5 separate regions of the Homo sapiens genome follow, and regions 2, 3, 4 and 5 are each linked to region 1. The links are contacts of gene promoters, found by promoter capture Hi-C in blood cells and fetal thymus (Javierre and others, 2016). All regions are on one chromosome and are shown on one strand. The core of a region is centred on a gene start or on the middle of the fragment in contact, and the rest is flanking DNA. Distances in the headings are between cores, read along the strand shown. Region 1 holds the start of NUDT4 (nudix hydrolase 4). Region 2 overlaps EEA1 (early endosome antigen 1). Region 3 overlaps PLEKHG7 (pleckstrin homology and RhoGEF domain containing G7). Region 4 overlaps EEA1 (early endosome antigen 1). Region 5 overlaps EEA1 (early endosome antigen 1).

Region 1 (2,777 bases), core at 78-2,577:
GGCCTTTTCTTTCATTTCTGAGAACTCTCCTCACTCCCTCCCACTTTGGGCTCTGCAGAAATCCCAGTTCCCTTTGCCTTGAAAGCTCTTGGTCAATTTAGCTCCTCCTCCTTCAGCCCTCAGCTCCTGCCTTGCTGCCCCAATAATCTTTTTCTGACTGCAGATCTGGTCAAATCTTTGTCTGAAACCTTAGAGCCCATTACATTTGTAGTTTTACGTGTACACGTGTGATCATTTAATATTTGACGGTGTGCTCTCAGGTGCCTACGCTCCTGGAGAGGCAGGGGCTGACTGGTTTTGTTAGATGCCAGTGCCTGACACACAATAGGCCCTCAAGGGGTGAAAAACCAACCAACCAAGTCAGGACCCAAGCAACCTGGGCCTCTGTGGAAGGGCAGAATGGCCTGAGTTTGGGTTTCTCGAGCTACCTTAAGATCAGGCCTCCTGGCTCCTATCTTAGCCCTTCTAACACTCTGAAGTGTAGAGGTTGTTTGTTCCAAGTCCCCAAGGTACTGTAAGCTCCCAGATAGCAGAAATCCCATTATATTTTAGTGCTGTGGCCCCAGCATCCAGCTGCGCTGTTACTTAGCATGAGATCCACATGAAAACCATTTCGCAACTATTAGCCATTGCCAGTATTAATACTTTCCGGAAGGTGGCACAAAGTGGGGGATGTTATAGACAGCTTCAAAGAAACGTTTAAGCTAGAGTTGACTCTTTAAATAATACAAGCCATCCCCAACCAAAGATTAAAAATTTAAATACAAAAAAAAAAAAAGGAAATTTGCCTACCCCCCATTTGTGAAAACAAAGAAAAAAAAAACAGTTAACGTCTTAACTTTTCTAGGCCTTCACTCTCGCCTCTCCCCGCGCTACAAGGGCGAATTCTGGACGTATCTACACAGTCACCGCGGAGTCTGCAATCGCCGCGACGTCCCCTGGCATTTCTTGGCCAGGCTGCAACTTTGGTGACGGTGTATGTAGTTACATCCCCTGTAGTGCAGCTGGTATTTAGGGTCCTCATTGGCAAAGTTGAGGGTATAAGCAGGGAGGGAGGGGACCTTGGCTTCTTTCCATTCACTGGCATGTTTTCGGGGCACGGTCATCCCACGCTGGGCTCCAGCGCCAGTCCCAAGGCCTCGCCGAACTCCAGCCCGGGAGTGCGCGCGGCCCCGCCCACCGGGCGGCCGAGGTCCCGCCCCTACCTCCCCCGCCACACCTACCCACCCACCCCATTGCAATGGTCTCTGCACGCAGGCGCAGTGGCGCGCGGGGGAGGCGGGGCGCATGTGGGCTTCATTTAAACAGAGCAGAGGGGGCGGCGCGCGGTCGCCGCGGTGCTGCTGCTCAGTGGGAGCGGGTCTTCGCAACTGTCTCCGCGTGGCGCGCGCCTCTAGCCGCCCTTCCCCTGGCGGCTACGGCCGGAGGGAGCGGAGGCGAGCGGGAGTCGGGCTCCATGGAGAGCGGCGGACAACTGGGCAGAGGCGGAGCTTTCATCTCGGCACCCTGGTTCCAGTGACCCGCGCTAGCGTCCCGTCCCGCCCGCGTCGGAGCGGCCGCCGGCCCCGGGACTGACCGGCCTCGCCGCACCTCCCGCACCGACTAGCGCTCCCGGGCGCTCCTGCGCCCGACTCGCCCTCGCCCCCACTCCCCGGCGGGGTGGCGGCGGCCGGGCCCCCACGGCGGCGGCCGGAGCAGCAGCAGCAGCAGCAGGAGCCCGCCTCTATGATGAAGTTCAAGCCCAACCAGACGCGGACCTACGACCGCGAGGGCTTCAAGAAGCGGGCGGCGTGCCTGTGCTTCCGGAGCGAGCAGGAGGACGAGGTAGGGCGCCCGGCGCCGCACGCTGCCCTCCGGGGCGCCGGGGTCTAGGGCCCGGGTGCTTCCCCTCGCTCCCCGCCCCTGCGCAGGCTGCGGGGCTGGGAGGGATTAGCCCCCTTCCTCCCTCCCTCCTTTCCTCCCTCACTCCTTTCCTCCCTCACTTCTTCCTTCCTTTCTCTGGGCTGATAGATGAGACAAAGGGGGCTCGCCCAGCCCCAGTTTCTCCATCTGGGCACTCGAGAAGGCGCCTGGTCCCCGGGAAGGTCCCGGGCCGCGTAAGTCTCGCCTAGCGGGAGTCACCATCTTAACGTGCGAATTGAGTTGAAAGCCGGATAAACCTCGAGTGCTCAGCGAGAGGAGGGTGGAAATGGCGTGAGTGTTGCAGCAGAGCCCTTGTGCCTCTTTTACATATTTTCCTTCCATGTTACAGCCGTTTGCGGTCTCGGATTCGATCTAAGCATGTTTGTGGAGTAACAGACAGTCCTCGTGCTTGGAATTGAGTCTAGTCTTGGCAATTCTTGTGGGTCCATGAACCCGCAAGCTGTTGGCATAATTATGCCTCATTTTTAAAACGGCCTTCCCTTCTTAAAGTTTTCTGACTGCAGAAAAATGGTTAGTGAAAAATGTGGAATAATGCCAAAAGGGAGACGATGGACTAGAGATGGGCAAAGCTGCCATTTTCAGACAGTAATCTCCAGCTCTCAGCTTATGTATAAAGGGTTCTTTGCTGTCTGGCTTGACATCTGGAAAGGAGTAGCCTTTCTCGTTCTCAGAGCAGTCGTTCTTGGATAATTTACCCATCTGCATTGGGCTGAGAATGAGACCCTTGGGGTTTCCCTGGAGAGCGATTTTTACTTAATTCAGTAGTATTTATTTAAAATGGCTAACTGTTGAAGTTTGCTTAGGGCAATAGTAGCCTTTTGGTATTGCCACTCTTAAGATAAATTACATAGGTG
Region 2 (2,749 bases), core at 137-2,636, 560 kb before region 1:
AATACAAAATTAGCCAGGCACGGTGGCACATGCTTGTAATCCCAGCTACTTGGGAGGCTGAGGCAGGAGAATTGCTTGAACCCGGCAGGTGGAGGTTTCAGTGAGCCAAGATTACACCATTGCGCTCCAACCTGGGTAACAAGAGCAAAAAACTCCATCTAAAAAAAAAAAAGACCAATAACTAATATTACTCCCTGAATAACAAGTAAATTTTAAAAATTTCTACCAGTAAAAGCTAAGAAAAATCTACCAGCAACATTCACCGTGACCCTAAAGTAGGATGCTTCTATTCTACCAGAGTATCGCTTCTGTATTCCCTCCAGCTCCTCACTTCCTCCTATTACCAAGAAAGGAGTAACTCTTATAACTGAGGTAGAATATACAGTGTTCTTTTCCTGTTTCCAAGTGGCAAGTACATTTGGGTCATGGTCCAGTCTACCTACTAAAAACAAATGTGGTGGTCTGCCCCATCCAATCACCAACACTTGAAGGGATGGGGCAACAATTCAAAAGTTAGGAGGAAACATTACTGCTCTACACCAAGGTCTAGGCTAGGGGAGAAGGACAATATCAGGAAACCAACCACACCTGCACACTAGTAGAAATTTATCAAAAACAAAGCTGTTATTTTTATCTCCATCTATGTGACCCCCACTTTTACTACTCAACTGGAACTCATGGAGAAATTAAGGGGGATAAGCAAGTCTATCACAAGATTATACAAAACTGGGTATCATCTTTACATGTTTGCAATTTATTTATCTACCAAAGCACTAGGTGATAGTATGAAATTGCATCTGTTTCCCTACCTGCTGTTTATCTTGTAATGCATTTTGAGCTGTGTCCAAATGATTCTGAAGATCAGCTCTTTGAGCAGTTTTTGCTGCTTCTGCTGATAGTAATAGTTCGGTTTTGGCTTTAATCTGTAACAGCATTTACAAATTATTTAATTTATATTTAGTTCTTGATTTCCTCTTGCTTGAACGCACACTCCTTTTGTGACTAAACAAACTATTTAAAAATTAAGTCCTTGGCAAAAACATATGGATTTATATATTGAAAAATATGTATGTGAAAATCGCCAAAATAGGAATGATAGGGGAGAAGACTCCTAATAATGCTGGATAAATAATAAAAAGATATCCTCATGTGATTCCAAAACACTTTAGTATTCCTTTGCTAAGAAAGAAAAGGTACACTTTTTTTCCAAAAAAGGCCACTGTATTTTCAGAAGTGAGTATCTGAAAGTCTACCACTATTATGATAAAGTAAATAACCATGCCCCAAAAAATGATTACTCCGAAGATAATCAAGAATTACAGAATTCAATGACTCAAAACAGCCAGACAACTGGCACTTTGTAAAATTCAGTATTCCCTGATAACTTCTCACTTAAAGGGTTTTATTTTTGAAGCTCACAGTCAAAATATTAAATATTAAAAATTCAAGGCTGCCAATAAAATCAAACAAGCAAAAAGATCTATCTTGTTATCAAAAGTAACACCTTTAAGTGTTGGAATACCTTTAGTACAACTCACCTCGAATACGAAAAGCAAAAAATAGGCCAAGTGCGGTGGCTCACACCTGTAATCCCAGCACTTTGGGAGGCCAAGGCAGGCAGATCACAAGGTCAAGCGATCGAGACTATCCTGGCCAATGTGGTGAAACCCCATCTCTACTAAAAATACAAAAATTAGCTGGGCATGGTGGCATGCACCTGTAGTCACAGCTACTCAGGAGGCTGAGGCAGAAGAATCACTTGAACCTGGGAGGTGGAGGCTGCAGTGAGCTGAGATCGCGCCACTGCACTCCAGCCTGGCGACAGAGCAAGACTCTGTCTCAGAAAAAAAGAAAGAAAGAAAGAAAAGCAAAAAAGAAAATATATATGTAAAAACATGTATTTAAAATTAACATATTTTGAGAAAACAGTAAAAATGGGGGGTGCATTCTTTTAGCTGGTTGAAGAGAGGATCAATGAACATAAGAAATCTAAGATTTACATTGTATGGATAATTACAAGCTGAAGGAAAAATTCAAATAATTTTTTCTCAATATCAAAATACTTAATTTTCACAGAAATAATAGTTACATCAAGGTATATACATTTACATTGATTTAAAGGTGAAAACTAAAGAAATCTTCCCTTTAAACAACACATAGTAAATCTATACTGATGAATATATAGCATAGACTACAAATATATTTTTGCAGAAGTCAGCTTTATTTACATACGGCATTTCATCTATCTGAGGAACCAAAAACTCATGAAATATTTTAACATATGATAATCACTCATGATCTTTTTTATACAGCATGCTTCAACTAATGTAATATATGTATATTCCAAAATCATGTAGCATATAAAGAAAGTTTGGGGGAAATTAAGTAATTGCTCCACTAGTTTGCCTTATTTTAGAAAGGCTTCTGATGGGGGGCGGGGGGGGAAATGTGGCTATTCATATAGCCAGCCCCTCTGTTTGCCCTTTTTATAGGCAATGACTAAGTACCAATTACTACAAGGCTACAATTGTTGCAACTTTTGCATTAAAGCCCTTAAAACAGTAAAAGCAGTGAAGTGCCCTCATACATGTGCATAATAATGTACCTTGATGCTGTCCTGATCATGCACACAAGGAAGTACCGTGGAAGTAGAGATCAAAAGGTGTATTATGGAACTTTAAACTGAGAAACAGCTTAAAAGCCTCATTTGTATAGTTAAAGGGACACTCCAGAAAAAAACATTACCTTA
Region 3 (2,700 bases), core at 21-2,520, 600 kb before region 1:
CTTCCAAAAAGTATCTTTGGGGAGGGGAGGGAGAAAAATAAATAAATAAATAAATAAATAATGTTTTAAGTATCTTTAAATGGTCATCTGGGTATTAAATGCAGACACACAATGAAATAAGGGGTTAATTACATATTTTTTATATTTGTTTTTAGTTTTGTTAATTCTCTACAATATTAAATGGAATGTCTAAGGCAAAATGGCATTAATAATTTCTCTTGAGATCAGGAATTTAATTACTATTCGAAATTGAACAACATTAAAACACCACTGTCTATATCCAAGTGCAAAGTCCTAATATTCTGTAAATAAATTAATGCAAAATGGTTAATACAGTGTTCTCTCTTTTGTTAGACAAAACAATTTATAGTCACAGAATACAACTAGTTTAGAAAGAAATGTTTTTAATATAATATTTAAACATATTAAAAAAAAGCAACAATTCAATAAGGATCCTTCCATTGTTCTTTATACAGATTTAAATGCTGTCACGTACTTTATCAGTTACATTTATAATTAATAACCTTCCAATCACTGAGTTTAGAAATTGCAGTATTTACTGAGCTAACCTTTCTCACAAAGTAAGGCACAACTACATGATCACAAGTAGTAAACACAATACAAATAATGAACCCAAAAACTAAATGAGAAAATGTTCATGCATAAGTATCTACAGAACTTATGAATATATGATCCAGTTCAAGGAATTACAGAATGTCATATACACAACTGCATTGTGTTACAATAAATTTATTACTTCTACACAGAAAGAACTTAGTGACTTCTAATTCTATTTTATACAATTTTACATAAATTTAGTAAGTTTATGCACAATATTCACATCTGCAACAATAACAAATTGATCATTAAAATTCAGGCTAAGGGCAATTAAGACACAATAATGTGTGGCACGTTATAATTACAGAATACCATTCATCAAGCTCATGTCTAGGAATACTATAATGGTGGCACATTTAAATCTTATGGATCAAATCATCCATGGTTTTATAGCCAAAGTGCATTTTTTTAAAAAAACTCCTATAGTCAAACAGGTCATGAATATCAAAATATATGATCATAATTTGCTCTCTACTTAAAAGCTAAACATTTTTATGCAAATGTAAGGTTAAAAAAAAGTGGCTTTAAAGTTCTCAAAACTATATAAAATAATCATAAAGACTTTTTTAAGAGAGATGGGAAAATAACAAATTTGGCAGTTACTATTTAACATTACTGTCAGGAAACTATTAAAGTAGATAATTCCACATTAAGAGGTAGTTGAACAAAATGTTATTTATACACTGCATTGAGGTTTTTGTGTTTGTTTCCCTCATTTTTTCTTCAAAGGAACAAATCCTATACCAGCAGCTTTGTCTTCTTTCTATTAAAAAAAAGTCTGTAGGTATAGTTTATTGTACACTAACCCAGCAAGACTTAATTTTAACTCACATTCTGTGCCGGGGTTTGGAATTTACTAACATTATGTCAATGTGCTTTTCATTAAAGCCAAGAGCTGTACATGCCAGCTTTAACTGACTGACAAAATAATAGTACCAGCAAACATGTAAAATGTACAGCCAATAAGGACTTCAAAGATGACTTTTTAATTAAAAGGAAAAAAATTTAAATTTTTATTTCGAAAACACATTAAATTGGGGAGAGTTAGTAGCAAAAAATGTTCGGTTTCATTTATATTATCAGTATAGTAGCCTATGGTAGGTAAATTACTCGGGACTTATGAAATGAAATTAGATAAAAATGAGAAAATCATTCAAACACCTATATATGGTTACTTGTTGTCTTAAAATTTTTTTGTGAGTATTTTGGGGGTAAAGGGGAGACAGACAGAAGGCCTGGAGTGGTGTTCAATTAGGAGACAAAGTAAACAAATATTCAAACCCAGATTTCTCATGGAATTTATTATCTCAAAAAAAAAAAAAAAACAGTGGTGCTGTGAATATCTGTGTTTTTCCAGCACACTTATTAAGTTATTTATATGTAAAAGGATAGAATTAAAACTATTTGGAAGGATTTATAAGTATATAAAAATGCATAAATAGTTCAGTTTATATTATCCAACTATTATTTTTAATAAAGAGCCACTGTATTTCTTCATTATATATGTTCAAGGATATATGTTTATCCAAGTCCAGGGACTTAATCAATGTTCTTAATAGCTAATGACAACAGGGTTTACTTAAATTTTTTTTTAAATAATTAAACAAATATGTAGTGATCTCTTTAGTTTACATACACTGTAGGTATAGCATGAATATAATTTCATTTCAGAATATTTGAAAGCAAATGTATATTAAGAACTATTATAAATGAAATATTAACTACTGTTATAAAATGATTGCACTGAATGAATGTATAACTACACTTCTTCTCTAGAAAGATTAATAAACCAATATTAATAACTTCTCTCTTGAGATGTTTTACAATTTTCCAAATTAATAAGACTATGCTAAATTAAAGTTCGATTCCATTGTTCAGCATACAAATAAGCTAATTTCTTAATTATCCTTAAGATGCTTAGCCATGCTGTTTCAGTTTTTATTGTAACTGGGATTCCTAAATACATTTGTTTTTGGTGATACTCTATTTCTAGGTGTTAGTTACTTAAAGGGAATTTCACAACATTATTTTTGCAAAGTTAAAATTAAAACTGGGAACAGTTGACATGGAACACCAAATTCA
Region 4 (2,779 bases), core at 92-2,591, 540 kb before region 1:
GAAAAGTACTCATGTGATTGAGTTATACTGAACTAGCCACACTTTTTTTTTTATGAAACACCACTTTTACTAGAAAGACCGACAGACTATTAATATTCGGACTTGAGTAGGAAGGGAATCTGTCACTTTAAAGAATAGAATTGATAGTATTTGTTGCCAGTGATAAAACTCAAGCTTTCAAATACAGCTTAGAATTTTGGAAAACATGTATCCACCACCATGAGCTTGACAGCTTCCTCATATTTAAAGCCTAATCTGAGATTGATGGTGATATTGACAAATGTGACTGTTTTTATATTGTACAATAAAATGTATCAAAATTTGGAAGATCTGAGTAACTCAGTGAACCAATATTTTCCACATGACTAATGCATGATCTTATAAAATCACGCACAGGAAAAGATCCACTCAAAAGGCAAGATAGATCAAATTTTAATGTTACAGTGTACAAAAAGTCCACTGACTCGGTTTCAGATTCCACATTGTCACTAACTTTTAAGACACTATTATCAAATTTGAGCACAGTATCAAATAAAGAAAGCCACAATTATCTGAAAAAGTATTAAAATATTCCTTCCTTTTCCAACTACATATCTGTATGAGACTAAATTTTCTTCATATACTTCAACCATATACTACAATAGATTTAATGTAAAGGCAGATATGAGAATCTACCTGTCCTATATTAAGCTAGACATTAAAGAGGTTTCCAAAAATGTGAAACATCACAACTATTCTTGCTGAATTCTTTTGTTTTAGAAAATGGTCATTTTTCATAAGAAATGCTATTTATGTTAATATTTAATGAGTTAATGTTTTTTAAATAAATTAATATTTTTAAATTACTTTTAAATTTCGATATGACAAGTGTCCATAGATATAACCTCACCCAAAAATGGCTCTTTGGAGTCCTTAATCATTTTGAGAATGTAAAAAGAAGTGCTTGCCAAGGGCAGCAAATTACCCTGAAACTTCATGGCAGCAAATTACCCTGAAACTTCATGGCAGCAGCCTAAAACAATATCTATTATATCATATAGTTTTTGAGGGTCAGGAATCTAGAAGTGGCTTAACTGGGTGATTTCACCTCAGGGTCTCTCATGAGGTTATAGTAAGCTGCTGGCCAGAGCTACAGTTTCTGAAAACTTGACTAGGATTGGAGCATCTACTTTCAAGCTCATACACATGGCTGTTGGCAGGAGGTTTAATATTTATAGCTAATTATATTTCTCTTTATTCCCTTATGCCCTATTTTTTTCTTTCTTGACTTTTTCCTTATTATATTTCACGAAAATGTTAAGTTATTACAACTTAACCAACACATTCACATCTCTGAATAAAAGGGTTTCATAACTCTCTACTGCCCCACCACCAAAAAAGTAAAGACAAAGGGAAAAAGTATTAATATTAGTACCTCCCCTAACCCCAAACAAAATACTATATGTTGCTCTTTATTTTTTGAGATGGAATCTCACTCTGTGGCCCAGGCTGGAGTGCAGTGGCATGATCTCGGCTCACTGCAATTTCTGCCTCCCATGTTCAAGTGATTCTCCTGCCTCAGCCTCCTAAGTAGCTGGGATTACAGGCATGTGCCACCACACCCAGCTAATTTTTGTATTTTTAATAGAATGGGATTTCACCATGTTGGCCAGGCTGGTCTCAAACTCCTGACCTCAGGTGATTTGCCCGCCTTGGCCTCCCAAAGTGCTGGGATTACAGGCGTGAGCCACCGCACCTGGCCAATGTTGCTCATTTATAAAGAAACAATACAGAAAATACTAACATTTAAAAATACAAAACAAAGTTGAAGGCTTATCTTCCTGATTTTAAAACTTATTACAAAGCTACAGTAATCAAAACAGTGTGGTACTAGCATAAAGATGGACATAGAGTCCAATGGAATAGAATAGAGAGCCAGAAATAAACCTTTGCATATATTGTTGCTATGGTCTGAATGTCTGTGTCCCCCCAAAATTCATATACTGAAACTCTAACCCTCAAGGAGATGGTATTAGGAGATGGGGCATTTCAGAGGTAATTAGGTCCTCAGGGTTGAGTTCTCATGAATGGAATTACAAAAGAGGCCCCAGTGAGGTCTCTTGTTCTTTTCACCATGTGGGACACAGTGAGAAGGCACCATCTATGAACCAGAAAGCAATGTTTCACCAGACACCAAATCTGCTAGTGCCTTGATTTTGAACTTCTCAGCCTCCAAAATAGTAAAAAATAAATTTCTATTGTTTATAAGCTACCCAGTTTATAGTATCTTATTATAGGAGCCCAAACAGACTAAGACAATGGTCAAATAATTTCTGACAAGGGTGCCAAGATTATTCAACGGGGAAAGGACAGTCTTTTCTACAAATGTTGCTGGGAAAAATGGATATCCATGTATAAAAGAATAAAATTAGACCCTTACCTTATACTATATACAAAATTAAATCAAAATGGATCAAAAACCTAAACATAAGACCTAAAAATTAGAAAACTCTTATAAGAAAACAAAAGAAAAGCTTCATGACACTAGGTTTAGCAATGATTTTTTGGATATGACACCAAATAGACCTTAACAAAAATGAAAGTAGATAAATTAGACTACATCAAAATTTAACATTCCTACAGAATGGGATAAAATATTTGCAAATCACATATCTGATAAGGGGTTAATATCCAGAATATATAAAGAACTCCTACAACTCAATAACAACAATGAAACCCAGTTTTGTTGCATATGGCCAGCAAGCACATTAAAAAATGTTCAACAACGTAGTCATTAGGG
Region 5 (2,700 bases), core at 50-2,549, 580 kb before region 1:
CAGAAGAGACACAACTAAAAAAGAGAATTTGAGGTCAATATCCCTGATGAACATCGATGCGAAAATCCTCAAATAAAATACTGGCAAACCGAATCCAGCAGCACATCAAAAAGCTTATCCACCACAATCAAGTTAGCTTCATCCCTGGGATGCAATGCTGGTTCAACATATGCAAATCAATAAATGTAATCCGTCACATAAACAGAACCAACGACAAAAACCACATGGTATCTCAATAGATGCAGAAAAGGCCCTCGACAAAATTCAACAGCCTTCATGCTAAAAACTCTCAACAAACTAGATATTGAGGGAACGTATCTCAAAATAACAAGAACTACTTATAGTAAACCCACAGCCAATATCATACTGAATGGGCAAAAACTGGAAGCATTCCCTTTAAAAACCGGCACAAGACAAGGATGCCCTCTCTCACCACTCCTATTCAACATAGTGTTGGAAGTTCTGGCCAGGGCAATCAGGCAAGAGAAAGAAATAAAGGGTATTCAATTAGGAAAACAGGAAGTCAAATTGTCCCTGTTTGCAGATGACATGATTGTATATTTAGAAAACCCCATTGTCTCAGTCCAAAATCTCCTTAAGCTGATAAGCAACTTCAGCAAAGTCTCAGGATACAAAATCAATGTGCAAAAATCACAAGCATTCCTATACACTATTAACAGACAAACTGAGAGCCAAATCATGAGTGAACTCCCATTCACAATTGCTACAAAGAGAATAAAATACCTAGGAATCCAACTTACAAGGGATGTGAAGGACATCTTCAAGGACAGCTACAAACTACTGCTCAATGAAATAGAAGAGGACACAAACAAATGGAAGAATATTCCATGCTCATGGATAGGAAAAATCAATATCATGAAAATGACCTTACTGCCCAAAGTAATTTATAGATTCAATGCCATCACCATCAAGCTACCAATGACTTTCTTCATAGAATCGGAAAAAACTACTTTAAAGTTCATATGGAACCAAAAAAGAGCCTGCATTGCAAGGACTTCATGACTAAAACACCAAAAGCAATGACAACAAAAGACAAAATAGACAAATGGGATCTAATTAAACTAAAGAGCTTCCGCACGGCAAAAGAAACTACCATCAGAGCGAACAGGCAACCTACAGAATGGGAGAAAATTTTTGCAATCTCCCCATGTGACAAAAGGCTAATATCCAGAATCTACAAAGAACTCAAACAAATTTACAAGAAAAAAACAAACAACCCCATCAAAAAGTGGGCAAAGGATACGAACAGACACTTCTCAAAAGAAGACATCTATGCAGCCAACAGACACAGGAAAAAATGCTCATCATCACTGGCCATCAGAGAAATGCAAATCAAAACCACTATGAGATACCATCTCACGCCAGTTAGAATGGCAATCATTAAAAAGTCAGGAAACAGCAGATGCTGGAGAGGATGTGGAGAAACAGGAACACTTTTACACTGTTGGTGGGAGTGTAAATTAGTTCAACCATTGTGGAAGACAGTGTGGCGATTCCTCAAGGATCTAGAACTAGAAATACCATTTGACCCAGCAATCCCATTACTGGGTAAATATCCAAAGGATTATAAATCGTGCTACTATAAAGACACATGCACACGTATGTTTATTGCAGCACTATTCACAATAGCAAAGACTTGGAACCAACCCAAATGTCCATCGATGATAGACTGGATAAAAAAAAATATGGCACATATACACCATGGAATACTATGCAGCCTTAAAAAAGGATGAGTTCATGTCCTTTTCAGGGACATGGATGAAGCTGGAAACCATCATTCTCAGCAAACTATAACAAGGACAGAAAACCACACACCGCATGTTCCCACTCATAGGTGGAAAGTGAACAATGAGATCACTTGGACACAGGGCAGAGAACATCACACACCAGGGCCTGTCGGGGGGTGGGGGGCTGGGGGAGGGATATCATTAGAAGAAATACCTAATGTAAATGATGAGTTGATGGGTGCAGCAAACCAACATGGCACATGTATACCTATGTATCAAACCTGCATGTTGTGTACATGTAAACTAGAACTTAAATAAAAGAAAAAAAAAAGCTGCTACTTCCCCCAATAAATGGCATTACCAACTACCCACATGCACAAACCCAAGTTATCCTTGATCCTCTTCCTATTACCTCTCACTTTTGAATCTATCAGAAAGTCCTGATGATGCAACTTCCAAAATATATTCACAAATCATTATAATCATTCACAAAATCCTTTATTTTCCCTTTAGTCAAACCCCACCATTCTCTGTTCTAAATTCTCCAATAGAGTCCAATTGCCCTTAGAATAAAATATACCATTCTGTTATCTCATAATCTAATTTGCATATAAATGATCTGGCCCCTGTCTAATTATCTGAGCTCATCTCATGTTACCTTCTCCCTCAGAACCAAATTTAACCATATTGGTCATCTGTTTTTAGAAAATACCAACATCAACTCAAATCTCTTCAGCAAAGCTTCTTTGATCACCCAACCTTCAGTAGAATTATGTCCCATCACTATCTTTCATACCTCTCTGTTTAGTTTCTCTACGCACTAAAGTATAAGCTCCACAAGAACAGGTCCCATGTCTGTTTTATTCGCAGCTGTGTCGTCTTCAGCACCTAGAATTGTGCCATGGCATAAAATAAGTGCCTAGTAATATTTCTGAAACAAGTGATTGAATGA

The links. The method cuts DNA at HindIII sites, captures the fragments that hold promoters and counts their contacts. A CHiCAGO score of 5 or more calls a contact.
Region 2: a contact is called between a fragment that was not itself captured here and the fragment with the promoter of NUDT4 in region 1, in 1 of 17 cell types (naive CD4 T cells). The highest score is 7.2, in naive CD4 T cells.
Region 3: a fragment that was not itself captured here is called in contact with the fragment with the promoter of NUDT4 in region 1 in 3 of 17 cell types (naive CD4 T cells, monocytes and megakaryocytes); the score reaches 11.0 in naive CD4 T cells.
Region 4: a contact is called between a fragment that was not itself captured here and the fragment with the promoter of NUDT4 in region 1, in 3 of 17 cell types (naive CD4 T cells, erythroblasts and monocytes). The highest score is 5.8, in naive CD4 T cells.
Region 5: a fragment that was not itself captured here is called in contact with the fragment with the promoter of NUDT4 in region 1 in 3 of 17 cell types (naive CD4 T cells, total CD4 T cells and naive CD8 T cells); the score reaches 6.0 in naive CD4 T cells.

What each region holds. Positions count from the first base shown.
Region 1 is chr12:93,376,598-93,379,374 of GRCh38, forward strand. It overlaps NUDT4 (nudix hydrolase 4), which reads left to right and starts at 1,328. Exons shown (of 5, transcript NM_019094.6): 1 at 1,328-1,824. The coding sequence starts at 1,726. LOC643339 (a long non-coding RNA gene) reads right to left here and starts at 1,139. Exons shown (of 5, transcript NR_040096.1): 1 at 840-1,139. RefSeq lists an enhancer at 924-1,863 and silencers at 1,100-1,439, 1,660-1,959. The HindIII fragment of the contact is 6,665 bases long and covers 1-2,777 here.
Region 2 is chr12:92,812,171-92,814,919 of GRCh38, forward strand. EEA1 (early endosome antigen 1) reads right to left here. Exons shown (of 29, transcript NM_003566.4): 16 at 810-923. Among named protein-coding and RNA genes, the nearest start is that of PLEKHG7, 110 kb to the left of the region's middle. The HindIII fragment of the contact is 6,905 bases long and covers 1-2,749 here.
Region 3 is chr12:92,772,125-92,774,824 of GRCh38, forward strand. It overlaps PLEKHG7 (pleckstrin homology and RhoGEF domain containing G7), which reads left to right. Exons shown (of 17, transcript NM_001377329.1): 17 at 1-331. It overlaps EEA1 (early endosome antigen 1), which reads right to left. Exons shown (of 29, transcript NM_003566.4): 29 at 1-2,700. Among named protein-coding and RNA genes, the nearest start is that of PLEKHG7, 70 kb to the left of the region's middle. The HindIII fragment of the contact is 3,638 bases long and covers 1-2,700 here.
Region 4 is chr12:92,838,871-92,841,649 of GRCh38, forward strand. The region is part of intron 10 of EEA1 (early endosome antigen 1); the gene reads right to left. Among named protein-coding and RNA genes, the nearest start is that of EEA1, 89 kb to the right of the region's middle. The HindIII fragment of the contact is 2,339 bases long and covers 173-2,511 here.
Region 5 is chr12:92,792,811-92,795,510 of GRCh38, forward strand. All of the region lies in intron 21 of EEA1 (early endosome antigen 1), which reads right to left. Among named protein-coding and RNA genes, the nearest start is that of PLEKHG7, 91 kb to the left of the region's middle. The HindIII fragment of the contact is 2,376 bases long and covers 112-2,487 here.